Linked DNA regions of Homo sapiens: region 1 is linked to region 2. Evidence: promoter capture Hi-C in human tissues and cell types (Jung and others, 2019). All regions are on one chromosome and are shown on one strand. The core of a region is centred on a gene start or on the middle of the fragment in contact, and the rest is flanking DNA. Distances in the headings are between cores, read along the strand shown. Region 1 overlaps SLC24A3 (solute carrier family 24 member 3). Region 2 holds the start of DTD1 (D-aminoacyl-tRNA deacylase 1).

Region 1 (5,177 bases), core at 2,563-5,062, 1.0 Mb after region 2:
GGATCTCATCGGGATTCAGCTCCAGGGCCCACAGGTGGATGGGTCCCTTCTATCTGGAAAAGGGGCTCCCAGTACATGGTGACTGAGCTCTGCTCAGCTCCTTAGACTGAATGATTTCCCTCTTCTCATCCTCTCAGTCAATGAGCTCATGTCTTAGATTTTGTGTACCCACAATATGTGCTTTTTAAATCTCCCATAAATGTAGTTAGTATTTTTTTAAAAAATGAGTCTCTGCCTTTGCCTTTGGTGCTATTTGCACTTCCCTGGCTCTCCTTTGCCTTGGACACCTGCTTGTGGCCTTCCACAGATGAACAGTTGCACCCAGCAGAAGAGTCTGTCGCTGTTAGCACTCTCCTAATTGGCATTGTCACCATCAGCAGTATGGTTATTAGTCTGGCTGTTATTAGTGTTGTCATTAGTTCATTCATCATTTGTACCTGAAGCTTGATTCACAAGCAAGCCCAAAGGAAGAGAGATAATGTAGAGAAATGAAACAAATGACTGGGGAGCATCTAGTCAGTGCCACACAACTAATTACTTATGAAATGGCTTGGATGCATGTGTGGCTCATCACTCATTAGTAACGCGGTTCATCCCAGCTTGGTTGGAACACCTGCATCAAAGGCAAAGGGCTCCCTGAACTCCAAAAAATGCTGGTGTCTGTCCCTTGACTCACCCCAGAAGGTCTTTGCTGGCTCACCTCACAACCCTGTAGCCATGGACAGAAGTAACAACCATGACTGTTGGGAGAAGCAGTCCACAGTCCACGCGATGACTCTGGATGCCAACCTTTCCTTCTGACTTTCCTGTCATGTGCCAAACTGGAGATTTTCAAGGCCATCCAGCTCAGGGTTTTGTAGGATCCTTCAAGTCTTTGCAGAGGAAGCAAAATTATGTTTTGGGAAGAACATGGGCTGGGGAATCAGACGGGTCTGGGTTTAAATCCTGATTCTGCCATTTTCTGGCTGTGGAACCCTGGAGAAGTTACTTATGTTCTCAAAGCCTCATTTTTCTCATCTATAGAGTGGGTACAAGCACACCTACTTCCTAGTGTTGCCATCAAGATGAATTGTAGCATGTTCAGCATTAATAGACCTGCTCTACATGGTAAGTCAGTCTCAGTTAGACACCATTAGCTATGCTCAGAATACGCATCCCTGGGGTTCTCACCTCCAAATTCCACCTAGGTCACTGTGATAATTTGACCAACTCATTGATGGAACTTATCTAACAGTCAAGGGTGTCCACAGCTTAATTAACAGACACAGGATACTCAGTGGGAAGGAAAGGGATAGTCAGGGAGAAGGTCTTCTAAATGTAAATCAAAGTAAGGAGATGTTCGTAGAAAAACAGTCTCAAAGGACTAGTACTTACTTCTGTGCTGTCTACCAGTGGGAGGTGAAAAAAAAGAAATGACAGCTTCCCAGCCTCAAACAGGGAGAAGCTCTCCCAGGCGGTGGAGTTGGTGCAGTGGAATGTTACGGCAAAGGCTGGATATTGGGAATTGAAGCGATTAATAAATCCAATCATGGATTTCACTTAGCATTTTATTTATGTTGATCTGCACTTTCATTTGGCTGGGAGAATTACCAGCGAGTGCCCGTGGGCCTCCCTCTATGAATTTCAGCATGGAGGGTTGCACATGACCAAGTCTGTTATCCATCTGAAATTAAAGTAATTAAGCTATAAGGTTTGAGTTCCTGTCTCAATTAGGGTTTTGATGAATTCAGTGTAATTAAATGTCTGCTGTATTTGCAGTTTGCAAACATAACCCTCGCTTTGGTGTTCACCTAAGGTGCTTTGGGGAGTTTTATGGGACAAAAAGGAAATTGCTTTTTAGAAAGTGGCTTATAGAGAGGTTCTTGGCATCACTTCAAGACATTTACAAGGCTGTGGTCCTACAAGTTTCCTTTATTTAAAAACGAAGAATAATAACAACAAAGAGAAAACACCGAGCTCTTGATGCAACATACTAATGTATCTTGTACGTTGTATTGAAGGGACTTCATGCCAGTTTTGTAAAACAATGTACTTGTGAATTTCGATCTGCCGTTCAGAGCATGTTAAGATTTAAATGCCTAACCACAAACAGAAATTATGCAGTTTAACTGCATCCCAGGTTAGGACTTTCATATTCAGGTTATTACAGGCCGGCAGATGGCTCTAGTTTATAATAAAGAGCTCCAACATCAGCCCTACTGGCATGCTTAAAATGTGCCTGATGTTCTTTGGCAAGGCCCATCTCATCTTGGCTGGGTTTGCCTTTCTTCAAATAATACTGGCTCGTTTAAACAAACCCTAGCAGCACCCAAAGATTGCACCTCTGAATTGAAATCCACCTGCATTTGGGCTTCCCCAAGAGACTCTAAGCAAGGACTCAAGTGCAAACAGTTGATTTGAAAGGTGATCCCAGGAAGTGCTTGTGGGACAGTGTGGAAGGAAGGCAAGGAAGAGAAAGCAGTGGAGGAAAGTGTGTTAGCAAGCCAGTTATCACTGTGGGTAACAGAGATCTAATTCTTCTGTGGGAACTGGGAGACAGTTTAACTGGAGAGCCACTAAGTTATCTCATGTAAGGAGGCGGGGGAGCTAGAGTATTTCTCCACCAGCTTCCATCATTCATTGGTTAAAGACTGCACTTAAGGGATATTAATTCCCCAGCATTCCAGCTTGCTGGGCTCAGGCGGAGTGGACCTTGGGGCCCAGGGAAAACCCCCAGGCAAAGAGATCTAGGGGACAGCAGTGGAAAGGGCCTGAAATGGTAAAGGTGGGGAAATATGAGTGAGCTCATAGTAAAACATTTGCTATGAACTCAAGACAAAGACTTTAAAACAATACACTTCCTGGGTCTCATCTTCAGCTCCCTTGGATGAAACACAAGCTTTAGTACTAGGCAGACTATAAAGTGTCTAGGGCCAGGACATCTTGCATTTAAAGAATTTTCTCTAATGTTAAAAATACCAGCTACTGTTTATTAAGCTTCTCTAACGTTCAGGCACCACACTAGATTCTGTAAAAATATTTGCGGAAATACACCCACTGAGTTTTAAGATAGTTATCATCCTTCTTTACAGGCAAGGAAATGGATACTGGGGGATTCAGTATTCCCCAGATGGCAAAGAGTCTATTGTCTGGTAGTTAAGACTGAATTTGAGCTCACATCAGTTGGTTATAAATTCCATTCTCCTTCCAAAAGGGGGAATCTACGATTTAAAAACCTCCAGATGTTATCATTGCATTCTTATGATTAGCCTTGGATTTTATGTGTTCTTTGGAAGTTTTGAGTGTAGGATCTGGGGTCAATGCCAAGAAAACAGACACATCAGCAAAATGGTGGTAGCCCCTGCTACAATGGAAGTATTAGATAGGTGCAAAAGTAATTGCGGTTTTTGCCATTGAAAGTAATGGCAAAAACCGCAATTACTTTTGCACCAACCTAATATTTTACTTAGCACAAACAATGTGCAGCTAGAAGTTTCTCTTATACTCAGATGGCATCTCCCACAGCTGGGCTTTTGCTTCCACCACAGATGGAGGACTCAGGCTGATAAACACAGCGGGACACCCACAGGCTGCCCCAGCTTACCCCGTACACCTTGATTTCTATCTTATTGTTCCCCAGACAAAACCCAACACACAGCTCCCCTGTTCCAATCCTGAGATGCATCCAGATTTTCCAAGAAGCTGGGGACAGAGGACAGGGGAGGCCAAAAACCACACACCCATAGTGCTGCCAAACCTAAAAATAGGGGCTGGAGGCCTAACATCCATTCCAGGGAGGGAGATGAAATTGCAAGGAAGAGAGCAAGTGATCTGTTGAGAAACCAAGAGGGCAGGTGTGGCAGAAGGCCTCATCCAGGAGCCAGCGTGCTTCCGTACATGATCCTGTGAGTAGCAGAGAGCAGAATGTGAAGTGCAGGAGTAGACCAAGGCCAAGGTCAGGTCCAGCTGAGGCAGCCAGTGAATTCCATCACACCCAGTAAAACTGGGTTTCTCCCGGCATCTTCTGCAGGCTGTGGCATCAGGAGGCAGATTCCTGTTAGAAGCAGAGCCCCAGCCCTAGCCCAAGGCCAACTGAATCAGAAGAGCAGCTCACCTGCTTCAGCTCCATCTGCAGGCTCAGCTCTCATCACGTTCTAGACCAAGCGTGGCCCTGGATGAGAGGCAGCCTCCAGCAGTTGGTCCAGGAAAGGTAGACAGTCCTGCTGAGGCCCCAGTCTTATGACTGACCATCTGCCTGAGGCTGTCTCTTGCACTGTCCCCTCATAGTTTCTTTTCTCTGGCCATCCCCACCCCAACCCCCTCAAGGCCAGGTCCTGACAGGGCCCCACACCTGATCTCCCCCTGACAGATGCTGTTGGTCCCAGGCCCAGAGTTCTGCTAAGGCCACCCACCTGGCTCTGTGCTGCTCTGTTTTCATTGCCTCTACAACTTCACCCCAGATCTCTGTGTTAGCTTTGATCTGGGCTCACAAAACGTGTGTCTTGCTTGTTCCACTTCTTTGATACGATCTCCTGAAGTCAGATTCATTCTCAGATCCACATCTAGACTAATTAGAAGCTTTCAGTTTCAGGTAACAACAAAAAAAAAATCCCAACTCTAACTGGCTTCTTAAATGAAGGAAATTTATAGATGTCTCTGAAAAATGCAAAGGAAAGTGGACATCAGGTATGACTTGATCAGGACTTCCAGCCCCATTGTTGTGATTCTTTTATCTCTAATCTCCTCTGTTTCCTTCCTCATACTAGTTTTTTTTTTTTAATGGCAGAAAATAGCTGTAGCATTTTCAGGCCTCAGGTACACATACCACTTTGGCCAGGAAAGAGAAAGAGGATGTCTCCTTGGCCACCACATCTCATTCCCCATCCCCCCATAGCATCATCAAACAAAAATCTGATTGAGCCAACTCAGGTTACCTGACCATCCCTGAACCAATCATTGTGGCAAAGGAACTAGTTACTCAATTGGTTTAGGTTAATCAAGAACCACATACCCATTTCTCCCTTCCCTCCAGAGCTAAGAATCTAATCACTTCCACCTCGAATACACAGTTTTCAGTTTATTATAAAAAGCAGAGATAAATGATTACAGGACAAAGCCTGTGCACTATCGTGTGCTGCCTCAATGTCTGCTTTCCCTGGGCTGGTGGAACACAAGGGAAAAACTGCACACAGATGCAC
Region 2 (4,798 bases), core at 1,925-4,424:
CAGGAATCACCTGGAGTTAGAACAGATCCTGCAAGTTTAAGGGTACGTTTCCCAAAAAGATTGCCCCTATTTCAGGTGCCAACCACACTTGGGTGTCCCCAAACCACTTGCACTTCAGACCAACTGGCTACACAGTCAGGAGTATCCATGACTCCCTAGGGTTGATAATGCACTAGAATCACTCATGGAACTGAGGAAAGTGCTGTAATTATCATTTATAGTTTTATTATAAATAATACAAATTAGGACCAGTCAAATGAGATATGTTAGGCAAGGTCTGCGAGAGTACCAAACACAGAGCCTCTGTGCTTTCTCCCTGCGGAATCAGGGCCATTACCCTCCCAGCACATCAATGTGTTCAGCAACCAGGAAGCTCAATGAAGCTTCAATGTCCAGAGTCTTTCCTGGGATTTCATCATGTAAGCATGACTGATTGAATCATTGGCCACAGGTTGAACTCAATCTCTGTCTTCTACCCCTCCCACAGGTTGGGCTGGCTCAGACATCCAGTCACTATTGGTCTTTCCAGTGACCAGCTCCCAATCTGAATTGTCTTGTTAGTAAACTCAGGAATAATCAAGGAGCTCATGAATAACAAAGATACTCCTGTCTCTTGAGAAATTCCAAGAATTTTTAAAGCTCCATGCCAGAAACCCAGAATTAACAAAGGCCAAAGTCTTTATTGTACCATAGGGGTGAACATTTTGAATTCCATTTTAAGTATGTTAACTTTTTTTTTTTTTTTTGAGACACAGGTTTACTTTGTCACCCAGGCTGGAGTGCAGTGGCAGTGATCCTGGCTCACTGCAACCTCCGCCTCTCGGTTTCAAGTGATTCCTGTGCCTCAGCCTCCCAAGTAGCTGGGATTATAGGTGCCCACCATCACGCCTGGCTAATTTTTGTATTTTTAGTAGAGATGGGGTTTCACCATGTTGGCCAGGCTGGTCTTGAACTCCTGACCTCAAGTGATCCACCTGCCTCAGCCTCCCAAAGTGCTGGAATTACAGGCGTGAACCACCACGACCAGCCCAATTTTCCCTTTTTTAGTCTTATTCTTTCAGGAGTGCACAATGGAGTTTTCCAGGGGCTCCGTGACATATAGTGACTTCATTGCTCTGATATTCATATGTAGGGGATTTATTATTGCTATTTTTAAATGCATTGATAAATCCATGTTAACTATTTCTCTTAGTTAAAAACAGTAAACATTTTTAGATATAATCCACCTAAACAAAAGCTATACTTTGTGCCCAATAATTTTTAAGAATGTAAAGGGATCCTGTGATCAAAATATTGAGACCTGCTGATTTTTCAAAAACTCAAATTTTACCAGTTGTTCCAATAATAAGCTTTTCCTTTTCTTGATTTTTCTGGCCAGGATACCACCCAGGTTAATTTAGTTTTCCTGTCTTTTTTTTTTTTTTTTTTTTTTTTGAGACAGAGTCTTGCTTTGTCACCCAGGCTGGAGTGCAGTGGCACGATATCGGCTCACCGTAACCTCCGCCTCCCGGGTTCAAGCAATTTTCTTGCCTCAGCCTCCCGAGTAGCTGGGATTACAGGCATGCGCTGCCATGCCTGGCTAATTTTTGTATTTTTAGTAGAGACGGGGTTTCACCATGTTGGCCAGGCAGGCCTCGAACTCCTGACCTCCAATGATCCGCCCACCTTGACCTCCCAAAGTGCTGGGATTACAGGTAGTTTTCCTGTCTTTTAAAAAGTCCACGGCTGGGCGCAGTGGCTCATGCCTGTAATCCCAGCACTTTGGGAGGCCAAAGCGGGCAGATCACCTGAGGTCGGGAGTTCGAGACCAGCCTGACCAACATGGAGAAATCTCATCTTTAATAAAAATACAAAATTAGCCGGGCGTGGCGGCGCATGCTTGTAATCCCAGCTACTCAGGAGGTTGAGGCAGAAGAATTGCTTGAACCCAGGAGGCAGAAGTTGTGGATAGCCAAGATCACACCATTGCACTTCAGCCTGGGCCACAAGAGCAAAACTGCATCTCAAAAAAAAAAAAAAAAAAAATCCTCCTTAATTCTCGGAATCCTACCTGGTTATTTTGTAGAATGTTCCTCAATTTATTTTTGTCCTATGTTTCATCATGATTGGATTCAGGTTATACATTATTTGGCAGAAATACCACAAGATTGATGTTGTGTCCTTCCCAGTGCAATATCAGGAGGCACATGATGTCTTGTTACTGGTTATGTTAACTTTGACAACGTTATTAAGGCAATTTAGTATTCAGTATTTAACAAACAAGCACACTAGTTTGTAGTCTTTTCTGGGCAAGTGAGGGTTTCTTCTCAATTTCAGTGCCTTTTCTACGCCCACCAATGCTATTAGTCACCTTTAAGGTGAAGACTGCTGAGATGGAATTATTTTTAGCAATGATAATAATTTGTTGGGGTAATAGTTGTACAGCCCTTTGCTGCCATCTAAGCACTTTTACGTGGTTTGGTTCATTTAAATCTAACAACCCAGTGAGGGGGCCAATTAGTAGCATTTATATTACATGAGAAATTAGAATTCTAGAATCACATACCTATTTATTATCATGACATGGCTAAGTCGAATTAATAGTGAGATAGGTAAATGGCTATTTTAGGCAGCAGATCCTTTTGTATGTGGTATCTGAAAAGCCACTGAGGCAGGAAGACAAGGAAGAAGAATTTGGGAGGATCTGCGTGCAGAGGAGTGGAAGAGGAAAGAGGAATACAATTAGAAATAGGATTCAGGCTGAATTTAAAGGCTTAGTGATGACGGGTTCTTAGGTTCGGGTATGTGGGAGAAAAAAACCAGCATAGAGACTACCTTCGGGGCAGAGTGGGTTCTGGGCACTGGGTAGGGGCTGGGCCCGGGATGGGGGGATCAAAGGGCTCTGGCGGGACCCAGATGTGGATGGGGCAGGGCCGAGCGTGGGGACTGGGCTTTTCAATGACGGGCGGGGTTACGGTTGGGCAGCAGGTGGGCGTGGCAGGCATAGGCGGAGTCAATCTATGAGTGGGTGGGCCTATCGCCAGGCCGAGAGTGGGCGTGGCCGACGTGGGGTGGGTAGCAGCCGACCGAGTCGGACCGGCCAGTTGGGCGCGCTTCCGGGTGTCACCTCCAGAGGGCGCCGGCTGCGGAGCCGCCCTCAGAGTCGCGAGGCCGGACGCAGCGCGGCGCCGCCCCACTCGCCCCAGCCGCCGCCATGAAGGCCGTGGTGCAGCGCGTCACCCGGGCCAGCGTCACAGGTCAGTCGGGCGGGGCCGGGCCCGGGAGGAGCCGCCCCTGACCCCCGCGACCGGCTGTCTTGCGTGGGGGGTCTTCCTGCGCCATCCTTGGGGCCGCTGCGGCCCCTCCGCGAGCCTGGTCCCCTTCGCGAGCTCGGTCCGCGCAGCCGCGAGTCCCCAGGGCCGGCTTCGGGGCAGCGCGGCGGCCGGAGAGCCCCCTGCACGTGCCCGACCGGCCCCGGCGCGCCCCTGGCTTCCGGCTCTCGGCAGAGGGTGCAGGACCAGCGCGCCTCATTCTCAGCACCTTTGTCCTGCGTGCGGGATGGCGGAGCCTCGGAGCATCTCCGTGGTCCGCTCTTCAGGGAGTGTTGATGAACCACGCTTAGAGCATTTCCGGAGCAGGCACTCCTCCCTTTTCACTGCTGTATTTTAAATGTTCAATTTTTGCCCATTTTTACGTATTCCAATTTTTATGGGGCTTGACTCAGGATGAAATGCACAGATGCGGAGAGTTGCTCCTTGGGCTGAGCTTTGACAGTTGCGTGCACGTACGTGACTGGAGCCTAGGCTGGATGAGGGGCGCCCCCTGCCCAGGACGCCCCTCGCCCTCGCCCGCTGAACTCTGCGCGGAGGGGTCGGGATCTAAAGAATTCAAGATGAAAACATTTCTCTTTTTCTTGTGGACCAAGCTACCCGACCCCTGGTCATCACTCAGCACTTTCGTCTCGGTTGGGCATCAGAGGTCCAGATGATTAGTGTAGATAAAGTAGTCGTTTTAAGAAAACCACGGTACGAAAGATATTTTTTAAAAAACATTTAAATGACAAGCTTTATATTGTCTTTAGTCTTTTCTGTCTTTATTGGCACAACTATATTGTTTCAGTTCAAATAATTTCAGATATCCTGTCCTTGGAGCCAGTCTGCACCAAATATGCGTTCTTGTGTCCACAAAAGTATGAATTAAAAACAAAACAGGCCGGGGGCTGTGGCTCACACCTGTAATCCCAGCTCTTTGGGAGGCCAAGGCGGGCAGATCACCTGAGGCCAGGAGTTCGAGACCAGCCTGGCCAACATAGAGAAACCCTATCTCTACTACAAATACAAAAATTAGCCGGGAGCGGTGGTTGGTGCCTATAATCCCAGCTACTCGGGAGGCTGAGGTAGGAGAATCGCTTGAACCCGGGAGGCAGAGGTTGCAGTGAGCCGAGATTGTGCCAGTAACCTCCAGCCTGGGCGACAGAGCGAGACTCTGTCTCAAAAAACAACAAACAAACAAAACCCCAAAACAAAAAACAAAACAAAACAAAAACAACAAAAAACCCTAAAGAAACAACCAAACCCACCAAAACCGTATATTTAAATCTAAGAGTCTATTTTTCAACCCCGCCTAATGATTTCTAAGCTGTTCTGGTAGCTTTGGTTTTGGAAATGGTCCTGGAATAATAGGGAATAGAGTAGCACTGGGATTTAGGAATTTTAAAGCTTTTATAACATTTCTGTAGATATTTAAATTCATGAAAACTGGGAAAATTCATAGATGAAAGATGTTTTGCATTATTGAGAAGAACCTTGCAGTCTGCTGC

Evidence for each region. The method cuts DNA at HindIII sites, captures the fragments that hold promoters and counts their contacts. A contact is called where the count stands out against the background at its distance.
Region 1: a contact is called between a fragment that was not itself captured here and the fragment with the promoter of DTD1 in region 2, in 1 of the 25 tissues and cell types used here (dorsolateral prefrontal cortex).

What each region holds. Positions count from the first base shown.
Region 1 is chr20:19,586,749-19,591,925 of GRCh38, forward strand. The region is part of intron 6 of SLC24A3 (solute carrier family 24 member 3); the gene reads left to right. Among named protein-coding and RNA genes, the nearest start is that of RIN2, 170 kb to the right of the region's middle. The HindIII fragment of the contact is 4,304 bases long and covers 1,661-5,177 here.
Region 2 is chr20:18,584,880-18,589,677 of GRCh38, forward strand. DTD1 (D-aminoacyl-tRNA deacylase 1) reads left to right here and starts at 3,175. Exons shown (of 6, transcript NM_080820.6): 1 at 3,175-3,236. The coding sequence starts at 3,194. It overlaps LOC124904878 (a long non-coding RNA gene), which reads right to left and starts at 2,586. Exons shown (of 3, transcript XR_007067547.1): 1 at 2,546-2,586. RefSeq lists enhancers at 346-640, 3,312-3,811, 3,652-3,711 and a silencer at 3,002-3,541. The HindIII fragment of the contact is 3,504 bases long and covers 867-4,370 here.